Regions from separate parts of the Homo sapiens genome. Here region 2 is linked to region 1. Evidence: promoter capture Hi-C in 16 types of primary human blood cells and fetal thymus (Javierre and others, 2016). All regions are on one chromosome and are shown on one strand. Each heading gives the region's core, a stretch centred on a gene start or on the middle of the fragment in contact. The rest is flanking DNA. Distances are from core to core; before and after follow the strand shown. Region 1 holds the start of CDC25C (cell division cycle 25C). Region 2 overlaps FAM13B-AS1 (FAM13B antisense RNA 1).

Evidence for each region. Contacts are between HindIII fragments. The CHiCAGO score rates a contact against its expected background, and 5 or more counts as called.
Region 2: a contact is called between a fragment that was not itself captured here and the fragment with the promoter of CDC25C in region 1, in 1 of 17 cell types (neutrophils). The highest score is 5.0, in neutrophils.

The regions. Positions count from the first base shown.
Region 1 is chr5:138,329,663-138,336,722 of GRCh38, forward strand. It overlaps CDC25C (cell division cycle 25C), which reads right to left and starts at 2,142. Exons shown (of 14, transcript NM_001790.5): 1 at 1,933-2,142; 2 at 1,325-1,556. The coding sequence starts at 1,518. LOC100128966 (a long non-coding RNA gene) reads left to right here and starts at 2,443. Exons shown (of 4, transcript NR_146628.1): 1 at 2,443-2,523; 2 at 3,771-3,866; 3 at 5,723-5,823. RefSeq lists enhancers at 1,300-2,253, 1,965-2,094, 2,105-2,154 and a silencer at 2,205-2,464. The HindIII fragment of the contact is 22,786 bases long and covers 1-7,060 here.
Region 2 is chr5:138,038,540-138,045,599 of GRCh38, forward strand. It overlaps FAM13B-AS1 (FAM13B antisense RNA 1), which reads left to right. Exons shown (of 2, transcript NR_037900.2): 2 at 1-394. It also overlaps a transcript of FAM13B not described here. Among named protein-coding and RNA genes, the nearest start is that of FAM13B, 9.0 kb to the left of the region's middle. The HindIII fragment of the contact is 5,363 bases long and covers 347-5,709 here.

The sequences.
Region 1 (7,060 bases), core at 892-3,391:
AGTACATCGAAATTCCCATTAGATTATTATATCCTTAAAAGTCAAAGATCATGTCATCCTCTTCTTTTTTTTTTTTTTTTTTTTTTGCAGTGGAGTCTTGCTCTGTCCCCCCAGCTCAAGTGCAGTGGCACGATCTTGGCTCACTGCAACCTCCGCCTCCCGGGTTCAAGCGATTCTCCTGCCTCAGCCTCCCAAATAGCTGGGATCACAGGCGCCTGCCACCACGCCCAGCTAATTTTTGTATTTGTAGTAGAGATGGGGCTTCACCATGTCAGCCAGGCTGGTCTTAAACTCCTAACCTCAGGTGATCCACCCACCTCGGCCTTCCAAAGTGCTGGGATTACAGGTGTGAGCCACAACGCCTGGCCAAGCCTGTTCATTTGAAACACCCCTTAATGACTATCAGATCATCTGAACAGTGTCCAAATAAATCTAATTGCTTTTGGGAAATATATCAGACTGGGCTGAGAAAAATCTCCCACTACCATAATCTGTACTTTATTTTCTCCTTACCAACATACTGAAACAGATAATTTTTTTTTTTTTAAATGAGGCCCAGAGTTTATTGGCCGAGGGGGATCTTGACTCCACATTCCCGGTCCTGAGCACTATGAACACAGGCTTGATTTCTCCCTGGGGTCCCTAGTTTTTCTCAGGTACTACTTCTCTTTGCTAGTTGAGACATGGTATGATCAGAATTCAAAGTACAACTGCAATAACACTAATATTAATACTAATAAAGTGACCGACTCGTAATGCAGCGGTTTTCAAAGACTTTTCCCAGTTATCACATCATTTGATTCTCACAAGATCCTAGTAAGATAGGAAGCGATTATTATTTCTTTGTCTTTTCTTTTCTTTTTGAGATAGAGTCTCACTCTGTTTCCCAGGCTGAAGTGCAGTGAGGCGATCTTGGCTAACTGCAGCCTCCACCTCCCGGGCTCAAGCAATCCTCCCACCTCAGCCTCCCGAGTTGCTGGGACTATAGGTGCACACCACCACACTCAGCTAACTTTTAATATTTTTTGTAGAGACGGCGTCTTGCCATGTTGCCCAGGCTGGTCTTGAACTCCTAGACTCAGGCGATCCGCCCTCCTTGGCCTCCCAAAGTGCGGAGATTACAGGCATGAGCCACCTCGCCTGGCTGAGATTATTTCTTGTCACAGAAAAGAAGGTGAGACTCAAAAGGGTTACACAGTCAAGGGCAGAGTTGAGACTTAAAGCCTGACCTTTGAGCCGGGATAATTGAAAACAAACCAACAAACAAACCCAACTGTTTGGAAATAGCAAAGGCAATACAGTGTAAAAATAAAAGTATATTTACCCAGACAAAATGCTTAGGTTTGCAGAATCACCAAGAAATTTGCCCACTGGAGTTCTAGGGACATCTGGACAGACGGTAAAGGAAGTGTCTCTCTCCAGGAGCAGGTTTAACATTTTCCTTTGATTAGACCTAAAACTGGGTCCTGAGCCAGAGCTTCCTTCCTCTCTTGTGGATGAGAAGAGTTCCGTAGACATGGTCTTCGAATTCTCACCAGGAGAAAAACAAAACCTAGCTAGGAGGAAAACGTCATCTAAATCGGTACATCACAGTTCCCTCAGCTTTCCTAAACTCCTCCACCCTTTCCAGCCAGGCGAATCAACACTGGAAGAGGGGCAACCCCGAAGGGTGATTCACAGCCTGGCTTAAGGTTAGAACCTGAATTCACCGACGAGAGGCAACCTTAGGACCTTAAAGATGGAATGAAGAGAGGATTTTGACTTGTTCCACGCCACACAGCTCGAGACTCCTGACTAGAAAGAACCCGGGTCTCGTAACTCGCGATAGTCCCCATTCGGCCCTCCCAACCTCTGTCTGTGGGGGCCCGACTGGACCCTAAGGGGGACAATGGGGTCTCCGTGATTCCGTGGCGGAGACGGCTGCGGACTTACCTCAAGCCTGGAGTCTGAGGCTTGCCTACAAGAGGAGAGAAAGTAGATAGGGATCGGACACAGGCGAAGACTTGAGCAGAATGAAAGGAAATCTAGGGGAAAGGAGGTAGTTAACTAGATTGCAGCTCTGCCTTCCGACTGGGTAGGCCAACGTCGGACTCAGAGTCTTCCCTGAGCAGAAGGCCAAAGTTACGGCCTCTGAGCAAGAATATCAACAGCCGCAGGCGTTGACCATTCAAACCTTCCGCCAGCCCAGTAACCTATCCCCGCTCGCCTCTAAGCTGCGTCAGCCAATCTCCGCGCGCGCGCCCAGGGCCTCATGGCCTATCGTTGGGCTCGCAGATCACCTGGGGGCGTGTGCTTGCTCTGGAAATGGTAAGACTTGCCCCGCCCCATAGCCAGAGCAGGATAGTGTTTGGCCCACCAGCGTTAGGCAGGCTGCGGGGTAAGCTCCGCCTCACGGGGAGCCTGGCGCATCATTGGCTCTCCCTCTCACCAATCTCCACACCCTTTCTGTTTTCCTCGTTCCCTCAGCCCCACGAACCCCGGGAGATTTAAACCGCGCCTTACTAGTGATGTCCATTCACTAGGGTAATACTAGGAGAGATTATTTTGGGTGGAGGGTGTTGTAAGCGTTTCATTTTCTTCGCTTCTTTCTCGTGCCGTTTTCGCGGACGTTTTCTTCTAAGTTTTGCTGGCCTTCCACGGGAGATGGAGCGTTTGCTGCCGGCGTGGCAAGTGTTGGGGCGAGACGGGTGTGTGTGTTTATGCTGAGAGGCATTAGCCCCTTCCAAGAGCTTTGTTTGGTGTTTCTTTTAGTGTGCAGCATCTCAGAGACTCTAGCTCACGTGGGTAAAAAGAAATTCCGTTGCAGGGAAAGTGGAGGAATTAAATCATCTTGGTATAATCCTTATCGCAATCCAGAGGACCTCAAAGATTGGTTATTAATGAAAATTTGAACATTGACGAGGTGATATTTATAAATTATTGGCCGGACGCGTTGGCCCACACCTGTAATCCCAGCACTTTGGGAGGCCGAGGCGGGCAGATTACATGAGGTCAGGGGTTCAAAACCAGCCTGGCCAACATGATGAAACCCCGTCTCTACTAAAAATACAAAATTTAGCCGGTTGTGGTGGCACACACCTGTAATCCCAGCTACTTGGGAGGCTGAGGCATGAGAACTGCTTGAACTCGGGAGACAGAGGTTGCGCCACTGCACTCCAGCCTGGGCATTAGAGTGAAACAAACAAAAAGACATTCCTAATGTTAGGGATTTGCTTTTAAATAATCCTGTGCTGGGGGAAGGTATTGATGATACAAGATTGACCCTGACTGTTGAGTGATGGGGGCAGGAGGGTCCATCATATCTGTGCTTCTCAAGGTTTAATTTGCACACTAACCACCTGAGGACCTGCTAAATGCAGATTCTGATTCGGGATGTCTGGGTTGCGGTTGCGGCCCAAGATTCTGCCCTTCTAACAAGCCCCCAGCTGATGGTGAGGTAGCTGGTCCTACGACCATACTTTGCGTGGTAAGGTATTACCCCATACTTCTTACTTCAATGTATATTTGAAAATTTCCATAATAAAAATGTTCAAAATAACCTTGGAAGCTCTTTAAGATGTAGGCTCCAAAAACGATAATTCGATAGGTCTAAAGTGGGGTCATTATCAAGGCCCCCAGGTGCTACCCATGCAGACGGCTTGCAGATCATGCTTTGAGAAACAAAAGTCAAAATGCAACTTGTGTCTGTTGTCAGGATCTTGGTGGTGGTAGTGGCTGAGAGGCACAGTGTAGCCAGCTGGTTTTTATCCTAATACCCTTTTCATCTGCAGAACCTGCTTCCCCAGAAAGGAGATGTGTGAAGATTCTTTGTCCTCTAGGATACAGACAGTGAGTGTAGGAGTTAGCACAGAACCTTGCTATGCCAGGTGAGTTTGAAAATCAGGCTGGGGATTAAGGGAGTGTGGGATGAGTTGTTATCTGCTTTGACGACTACAGTATAATCACACTTTGTGGGAAATTGTATACTTCCCTGCAGGTGGGAAGTAGAGACAAAGTTATTCTCTATTGGTGGCAAAAGCAGATAGATTATGGCAAGTGCACACCTGGCTACCAGTGCTTTCTGCACCAGGTCCTCAAGTAAGTGCAGTTGTGGGTGGTCACAACAAAGGTGTCAGCCAAGTGGCTTTAGTTCAATGTCAGGTGATGGAAATATACTAAAATCTGAGCACTCTGACAAAGTTGCAGCATTCCTAAAACAAATTCTCCAAAAATCTAGCCCCAAAAATAAGTTTCTGAGATTTCTCAAATGGAACTTATACACCTAGCTCTTAAGAGTATTTTTTTTTTTTTTAAGATGGAGTCTCGCTCTCTCCCGGGCTAGAGTACAGTGGCGCAATCTTGGCCCACTGCAACCTCTGCCTCCTGGGTTCAAGTTATTCTCCTGCCTCAGCCTCCCGAGTAGCTGGGACTACAGGTGCCCGCCACCACGCCTGGCTGATTTTTGTATTTTTAATAGAGGTGGGGTTTCACCATATTGTCCAGGCTGTTCTGGAACTCCTGACCTCAAATGATCCACCCACCTCGGCCTCCCAAAGTGCTGGGATTACAGGCATGAGCCACTGCGCCCGGCCGCCCTTAAGACTTTTTACAGATGCAGTGGTGCGCCTGTAGTCCCAGCTACTTGGGAGGATCACTTGAGCCCAGGAGTTTGAGGCCAGCCTGGGCAACATAGTGAGACTGTCTCCTAAAAACAACAACAAAAAAACTTTTTTTTTTTGAGACAGTTTCTTTCTTGTTGCCTAGGCTGGAGTGCAATGGCGCAATCTCAGCTCACTGCAACCTCTGTTCAAGTGATTCTCTTGCCTCAGCCTCCTGAGTAGCTGGGATTACAGGCATGCGCCACCACACCTGGCTAATTTTTGTATTTTTAGTTGAGACAGGGTTTCGCTGTGTTGGCCAGGCTGGTCTCAAACTCCTGACCTGAGGTAATCCACCCACCTCGGCCTCCCAAAGTGCTGGGATTACAGGTGTGAGCCACCATGCCCAGCCAACAAAACTCTTAAAAGCTCTACGTTTGTTAATGAGGTTGTTTTCCTAGCAAACATTTTCACTATCTCCTCATGATTCCAGCTGGCTTAGCTAATTGCAACATACTTAGCTAATTACATGTAAGTTTACATGCATACATACAAACTGTGAAATGGTAGAATTATTTTAAAGGGAAGTCAAATATTGTCTTTTATATCTTGATTTATGAGGGTGTTGGAATATATCTAAGTTATCCTTCCCAGAAGAAAGAATATTAGGGAGGTGGGAAGTTTGGTGTTTAATCTGATTTGAAGATTTACTTTTTCTGTTGGATTGAGGGCATTGATCCTATGTCATCCTTGGGGAATCCCTATCTAGGCTCCTGATTCACTGTGATAAGCAGTGAGCTGTGTTCCTTCACCTTGACCTCAGTCTGACTCATACATGTTGTTGCCAGGGCACAGTGACAGCCCGGGCTTCACCCTGAAACACCAAACAAGAACAGGAGGTACAGCCATCACTCCTGGGATGCCCAGATCAGGCAGTGGAGAAGAGCCCTGCATTCCTGGGATCCTCCCAGCCAGCCTCTGCAGGGCAGAGGGGCTGAGGGGTGTGTTTTCTATTCCTGGTTCTTTTTATGACTGGTAGGCTTAGCCCTACTTCTCCCCACTTTGCAGAGGTTTAGCTTTCACTGGGTGAAAAGGGAAGGTCTGAATCGAGTGCATGTTCCTCCAACTCGGCTGTTCCTTCCTAGGCAGGGAATGAAGAGTCTTAGAACCAATGGATTCCACTCCTTTGGATGACCTCCTGGATGACTGGCTCCAGGCCCTGGAGCCCTCAGAATATGGATGGAGAGTATCCTTTGCTGAAACCCACTGGAGCAGGGTCACAGATGGGGTTTGGCCCATGAGGGCATAATTAAGATGCAGTTCAAAGCAGTGGCTCAAGAACAAAAGACTAAAAAGGGGGCAGCAGGGAAAGAGCAGGACATGAGTAAAAAATCCTTGGGAACTAAAAGTGGAATAAGGAGATTTAATTATGGGTAGGAGTGTTGGGCTGCACTGGGAGGCCATTTTATAGATGACGAAAGGGGATGTAACCTTCCTTTGAAATGAGGCCTGAAACTTGACTTGCAGGGTTTTTTTTTTTGTTTTGTTTTTTTTGTTTTGTTTTGGGTCTCAGTTTCTTTCAATGTTTTGCAAATGAGCCAATGCCTACTTTTAACTCAACCATTTAATTCATAATAATTAAATTATTAATTTAATTAATAATAAAAAGGTGAACAGCTTAGTGGTGAAAAGCAAGGGCTTTTAGACTGCTTTTTGAGAGTACCTTTGCCTACCATGTGGGCAGTCACTTAACTTCTTGGGCTGTTTCATTTGTCAAAGAGAAGGTTTTGTTTCATTTGATGATTGTAAGAAAAAATGAGAATATATATCAAAGTATGTAGGTCAAGTGTGGTGGTTCACACCTGGAATCCCAGCACTTCGTTTTTTGTTCATTTGTTTTTTTTTTTTTTTGAGACAGAGTCTCATTCTGTTGCCCAGGCTGGAGTGCAGTGGCACAATCTCGGCTCACTGCAATCTCTGCCTCCCCGGTTCAAGCGATTCTCCTGCCTCAGCCTCCCGAGTAGCTGGGATTACAGATGGGCGCCACAATGCCCAGCTAATTTTTGTATTTTTTAGTAGAGACGGGGTTTCACTTTGTTGCCAGGCTGGTCTCGAACTCCTGACCTCAGGTGATCCGTCTGCCTCAGCCTCCCAAAGTGCTAGGATTACAGGTGTGAGACACCACGCCAATCCCAGCACTTTGTGAGGCCAAGATGGGAAGATTGTTTGAGGCCAGGAGTTTGAGACTACCCTGGGCAACATAGCAAGACGCCTCTCTCTACAAAAATAGAAATAAATATGCTGGGCATGGTGGCACACCCCTGTAGTTCTAGCTATTCAGGAGGCTGAGATGGAAAGGATTGCTTGAGCCCAGAAGTTCAAGGCTGCAGTGAGCTGTGATCGCCTCAGTGCACTCCAGCCTGAGCAACAGCAAGACCCTGTTTTTACAAAAAAAAAAAAATGTAGCATGGTGTCTGGTACAT
Region 2 (7,060 bases), core at 1,778-4,277, 290 kb before region 1:
CCTCTGGTAAAAGAGAAGCAACTCACCATTAGAGAGATGTATTGCTGGCTCTTCCAAGAAATGGAGTGGAAATCTTTCTGTGCCACTTTGCCCAGGACCATTGTGCCAGTGTGCAAGAATGTGTGTTTTTCATAAACAGAAAAATATCACTAGCTGCAAAGAGAAGAAACTGTTCCAGGGTGTACAAATCCCACGCCAACCTCCAAAATAATGGCAAATACTGTTCTGATCTTAGCAACCCAGAATAACCTTTGTGCCATTTATTTATTCAACACATATTTCTTGGGCAGCTATTATGGGTCAGGCACTGTGCTAGGCGATATGATCATGATCTCTGCCCTGGAAAAGCTTCATCTTACATATCTCTGGAATAAAATATTTTGGTGGAATAGAACCAAAGTTAACATAATGTGGATTTCAGCTTCTATATTCACTCATATAGCCACTGGTGCCAGTCACATCCAGTTTGGAGAGCTGGAACAATTAACAGTAAGTCTCATCTTTGCCAAGTCCACATATTTGGCCTGATAACTCAGAATTCAGTGTATGACAATAATGTAGGCCAATACTATCATCAGCTATAAGACTAATTTGTTTTGGTTTCTTTATTAAATTCCTATAATCAGCTAGATATTTTTTCCACAATCAGAACTTTTATTGTTGAAAATAAATAAATAACAAAGAATAAATATCCCTTTCTCTTCTTCCCTCTGCCTGTATCCATATAGGGGAAAGAAAAAACTGCTCTGAGATTCAGTGAGATTATGACCTTCACAAAATCATGAACTTTCTGCTGCCTTTTTAACCAGAAATCTAGGCAGGAGGGTCTCACCATTTTGCATATCCTACCTGTTCCTTACAGGCTCTAGGCTTTTGAGCCTTCCTATCATTTGACCAGCCAAGTTGCTTCTCAGCACCTTTTTTTTCCCCTTTGAGTCAGGGTCTGGGTCCAGTGGCCCAATTATAGCTCACTGCAGCCTCAGTATCCCAGGCTCAAGCAATCCTCCCACCTCAGCCTCCCAAGTATCTGGGACTACAGGCATGTGCCACCATGCCCAGCTTTTTTTTTTTTTTTTCTTAGAGACGTATTATCACTACATTGCCCAGGGTGGCCTCTAACTCCTGGGCTCAAGAGATCCTCCCACCTCGGCCTCCCAAAGTGCTGGGATTACAGGCATGAGCCACCATGCCTAGCCTTCAGGCACCTTCCATTCAGACCACATTTTCTGTGGCAAACTGACAACGCCAATGTTTGCAGTTTGCAGTTTAACTACAGCTGTATTTTTTGCCAAACATTTACACCTAACTACTCTTTTCCACTAGAGTATATAACAATTTACAGAAGCATTTAATGTTTTCTGAATCCCCAAGCTCATCAGCAGAGAAGCTCCAAAACATGAAGGTGTACATCCCTATTTTAGGCCTTCATAGAAAGAAACCAACCTGGCCGGGCACGGTGGTTCAAGCCTGTAATCCCAGCACTTTGGGAGGCCGAGGAAGGCGGATCACGAGGTCAGGAGTTCAAGACCAGCCTGACCAACATAGTGAAACCCCATCTCTACTAAAAATACAAAGTTAGCTAGGCGTAGTGGCGCATGCCTGTAATCCCAGCTACTGGGGAGGCTGAGGCAGGAGAATCATTTGAACCCAGGAGGCAGAGGTTGCAGTGAGCCGAGATTGCACCACTGCACTTCAGCCTGGCGACAGAGCAAGACTCTGTCTCAAAAAAAAAAAAAAAAAAAAAAAAAGGCCGGGCACGGTGGCTCAAGCCTGTAATCCCAGCACTTTGGGAGGCCGAGGCGGGCCGATCACAAGGTCAGGAATTCCAGACCAGCCTGGCCAATATGGTGAAACGCTGTCTCTACTAAAAATATTAAAAAAAATTAGCTCGGCATGGTGGTGCATGCCTGTGATCCCAGCTACTCAGGAGGCTGAGGCAGGAGAATTGCTTGAATCTGGGAGGCGGAGATTACCGTGAGCCGAGATCGCGCCACTGCACTCCAGCCTGGGCGACGTAGACACCGTCTCAAAAACAAAACAAACAAAAAAGAAGGAGATAATAGAATGGAGGGAAGACAATATTCAAAGAAATAGTGGCTGAACATTTTCCAGAATTGAAGGTAAATATCCTAAATTCTGGAAGACCAAAACTTGCCATGCTGAAAAGTATAAAATGCACACATAAAATTTAGTACCCAGAGAGAAAGGGGATCTTAAAATTAGGCAGCAAGAAAAGACATTAGGCCGGGCACAGTGGCTCACGCCTGTAATCCCAGCACTCTGGGAGGCCAACATGAGCAGATTGCCTGAGGTCAGGAGTTCGAGACCAGCCTGACCAACATGGCAAAACCCTGCCTCTACTAAAATTACAAAAATTAGCTGGGTGTGGTGGCACACGCCTGTAATCCCAGCTACTCGAGAGGCTAAGGCAGGAGAATCACTTGAACCTGGGAGGCAGAGGTTGCAGTGAGCTGAGATTGCGCCACTGCACTCCAGCCTAGGCAACAGAGCAAGACTCCATCTCAAAAAAAAAAAAAAAAAAGAAAAGAAAAGACACTAATCTTCAAAGAAAAGATAATTTGGCTGACAGCTGACCTTTCAATAGTAACAATAGAAGCCAAATGATACTGCAGCGTATCTTCAAAATGTTAAGAGAAAATTACCATCTTCCAGAAGGAAGATCCAAAATGCGAGAAGTAATGGTGAACAAAGAAAATTGTTTGCATGTTTGCTGTAAATCTAAACACTATCCAAAATAATGGCAACAATATCTAAATTCTACTATTGTTCAATAATTTAACATATACTATTGTGAGAGGGTAAATTAAAGTATTAGAAGGCTTTGTATTGTTTAAGAGGAGGCTAAATAAGTCTATAATTTGTTGAGTTAAATATACATGTTAAAATTTCTACATAATCAGTACAAGAAATTAAACAGTATATATAACTTCCAGTTTATTAGGGGGATAAAATAAAATAGGAAGATCTTAATTTTAAAAATGGATAAAAAATGTTTAAGGAGGACAAATAGTAAAACATTAGATAGCAGAAATAAATTCAAATATGAGTAATTACAATCAGTGTAAATATATTAATTCCTAATTAAAAGTCAAAGAGCTGGGCATGGTGGTTCACACCCATAATCCCAGCACTTTGGGAGGCCAAGGCAGGAGGATTGCTTAAGGCCAGGAGTTTGAAACCAGCCTGGGCAACATAGCAAGACCCCATCTCAAAAAAAAAAATTGGGGGTGGGGGGTGGTACTGAGACAGGAGAATCACCTGAACCTGGTAATTCAAGCCTGCAGTAAGCACCACCGCACTCCAGCCTGGGTGGCAGAGCAAGACCCTGTCTCAAAAAAAAAAAAAATATTAATAGCCAGGCACAGTGGTTTGCACCTGTAATCCCAGCTAGTCAGGAGGCTGAGGCAGGAGGATTTTTTGAGCCCGGAAGTTCAAGGTTACAGTGAACTATGACTGCACCACTGCACTCCAGCCTGCACAACAGGGGAAGACCCTGAAGTTCATAGCTGCATTTTTTATATTGGTGAAAAAAATGGAAACTCAAGCTCAGGTAGATAGCAATGATAGAATGATGAATGATTAATACAGTATGGTATCTTCATACCATGTAAACAATGAAAATGAACAAACTACAGCTACAAACAACAATGTGATGAATCACAAAAATAAATGAAAGAAGCCAGACACAAACAAATACTGTATGAATCCGTTAAAAACAGTTCAAAAGCAGGGAAAACTAAACTATCATTTTAGAAGTCAGAATTGTGGTTAAGGAGGGAAGTCTTTTTGAGGAAGGAAGAAATCAATAATAAGGAGGGGTCATGAGAAGATATTCCATTTCTTAACCTAGGGGGAAGTTGCACATATATGTTCACCTAGGGACAATTCAGTGAGCTGTACTCATGATCTGTATACTTCTCCATATGTATTTTATATTTCAAAAAGTTTAAAAATAAAAACTAGCTCCTTAAGTTTTTAAGTTTTTTCTTTAATTGAAATTAAATATAACAGTGTTTCCCAAAAAAAGCAAAACTAAATCATCATGTTTAGGGATACAAATTAGGGGAAAAACTTAAAAGAAAAAAAAAAAAAGCCAGGAAGTGACTATCATAGACATCATGATACTGGTTCTGGTTCTTCTGGGAACGAGGGGCAAGAGTTCGTGGAGACACAAAAATAAGAATGCTCTTATTCTTGATATGAGCTGTGGTGGTTACATGGGTGTTTGCTTTGTATTAAATTGACCAGGGGCCAGGCGCGGTGGGTCATGCCTATAATCCCAGCACTTTGGGAGGCTGAGGAGGGTGGACCACCTGAAGCCAGGAGTTCAAGACCAGCCTGGCTAACATGGTGAAACCCTGTTTCTACTAAAAATACAAAAAGTAGCCGGGTGTGGTGGCGCATGCCTGTAGTCCCAGCTACTCGGGAGGCTGAGGCAGAAGAATCACTCGAACCCAGGAAGTGGAGGTTACAGTGAGCTGAGATCGTGCCACTTCATCCCAGCCTGGGCAACAGAGCCAGACTCCATCTCAAATAAAAAAGAACAACAACAAAAGAAGAAATTGACCAGGCCAGCAAGAATCACTTGAGGCCAGGAATTGGAGACCAGCCTGAGCACCATAGTGAGACCCTGTCTCTATAAAAAATAAAATTAAAAATTAGCCAGGCATGGTAACACACTTGTAGTCCCAGCTACTCAGGAGGCTGAGGTGGGAGGATTGCTTGAGGCCAGGTCAAAGCTGCAGTGATCCATGATTGTGCCACTGCACTCCACCCTGGATGACAGAGAGAGACCCTGTCTCAAAAAATAAATAATAAATAAGAATAAATTATTGACCTGTGTTTACCTTGTTCGGGCATTATTCTTTTTTTTCTTTCTTTCTTTTTTTTTTTTTTTTGAGACAGAGTCTTGCTCTGTCGCCAGGCCGAAGTGCAGTGGTGCGATCTCGGCTCACTGCAACCTCCACCTCTCAGGTTCAAGCAATTCCCCTGCCTCAGCCTCCCAAGTAGCTGGGACTACAGGCGCACGCCACCACGCCCGGCTGATTTTTTGTATTTTAGTAGAGACAGGGTTTCACCATGTTGGTCAGACTGGTCTCGAACTCCTGACCTCATGATCCGCCTGCCTCGGCCTCCCAAAGTGCTGAAATTATAGGCGTCAGCCACCGCACCCGGCCTCTTTTTTTTCTTTTTTTAACAGAAATGGGATCTCTCTCTGTTGCCCAGGCTGGTCTCAAACTCCTGGGCTCAAGCAATCCTTTTGCCTCACCTTCCCAAAGTGCTGGGATTACCAGGTATGAGCCACCATACCCAGCCAGGACATTTTCTATATGAATATTGCACAATGAAAAGGGGGGTATTTTGGTATTTTTATTAGAGAAAGTGTCTCACTCCATCTCCCAGGCTGGAGTACAGTGGCTCCATTATAGCTCATGGTAGCCCAGAACTCCTGGGCTCAAGTGATCCTCCCACCTCAACCTCCTATGTAGCTGGAACTATAGGCACATGCTGTCACACCTAGCTTTTTTTATGTATTTTTTATTTTTTTGGTAGAGACAAAGTCTTGCTATGTTGCCCAGGCTGGTCTTGAACTCCTGGCCTCAAGCGATCCTCCCACTTCAGCCTCCCAAAGTGCTAGGATTACAAGCATGAGCCACTGCACCAGCCTAAAAAAGATATTTTAAAGTAAGCTTTTAAAAAAAGATAATAGGCCGGGCGCTGTGGCTCATGCCTCTATTCCCAGCACTTTGGGAGGCCAAGGTGAGCGGATCACCTGAGGTCAGGAGTTCGAGACCAGCCTGACCAATGTGGTGAAACCCAGTCTCTAATAAAAATACAAAAATTAGCCAGGCATGGTGGCACACGCCTGTAATTCCAGCTACTCAGGAGGCTGAGGCAGGAGAATCACTTGAACCCAGGGGGCGGAGGTTGCAGTGACCCAAGATCACACCATTGCACTCCAGCCTGGGCGACAGAGCAAGACTCCATCTCGAAAAAAAAAAAAAAAACGGATAATATAAGACAATGTCTTCGTGATTCTTAAATAAAACACAACCTTTTCACGGTACAGTAAGGATTGATAAATTCAGCTATTTTACATTTGACACCATTAAAAAAGTGAAAGTTCAAGCCAAAAGACTGGAAAAGTTAGCTACAAAACATTCAACCCAAAAAGGACTACTATCTACATGATATAGAGAACTTCTGGAAATAAATTTTAAATTTTTTAAAAAGACAATCTAATATGAAATTACAAAAATAAACTTTTTATAGGGATTGCATCATAAAAGGAAATCCAAATGGCCAACACATGTATGAAAAATACTCAACCACATTAGTAATCAGGGAAACGCAAACTAAAAAATACAACTTTACATCCACCATAATAAACTCGCCAGCATGGCCAAAATTAGTAAGTCTGATAGTATCAAGTGATGTGGAAGAGCAGAATCTCTTTCACTGCTAGTAGCAGTGTAAATTCTAAAATTGAAAACATAATATCTCTAGAACTAAACAGTTCCACTCCTGAGTATATACTCTGGAGATCTGTGTGCACAAAGGTAGCAGAATATAGGTATAAAAATGTTCACATCTGCATTAATTCTAATAGTCCAAAAATGGAAACAAAACACTCCAGCCACAGAAGGATAGACCATACAAGGAAATACATACAAGAATGAGAAAAGAATGAGGCCAGGCATGGTGGCTCATACCTGTAATCCTAGCCCTTTGGGAGGCTGAGGCAGGCAGATCACTTGAGCTCAGGAGTTCGAGACAAGCCTGGGTAACATGGCAAAACCCTATCTCTACAAAAAATACAAAAATTAGCCAAGCACAGTGGCACACACCTGTAATCGCAGCTACTCAGGAGGCTGAGTGGGAGGATGGTTTGAGCCTGGGAGGCAGAGGCTGCAGTGAGCCAAGACTGTACCATTGCACTTCAGCCTGGGCAACAGAGCCAGACCCCATCTCAAAAACAAAAAAAGAAAAAAAGGATGAATAAACTTAGACCTACAGGTAACCGCATTGTTGAATCATA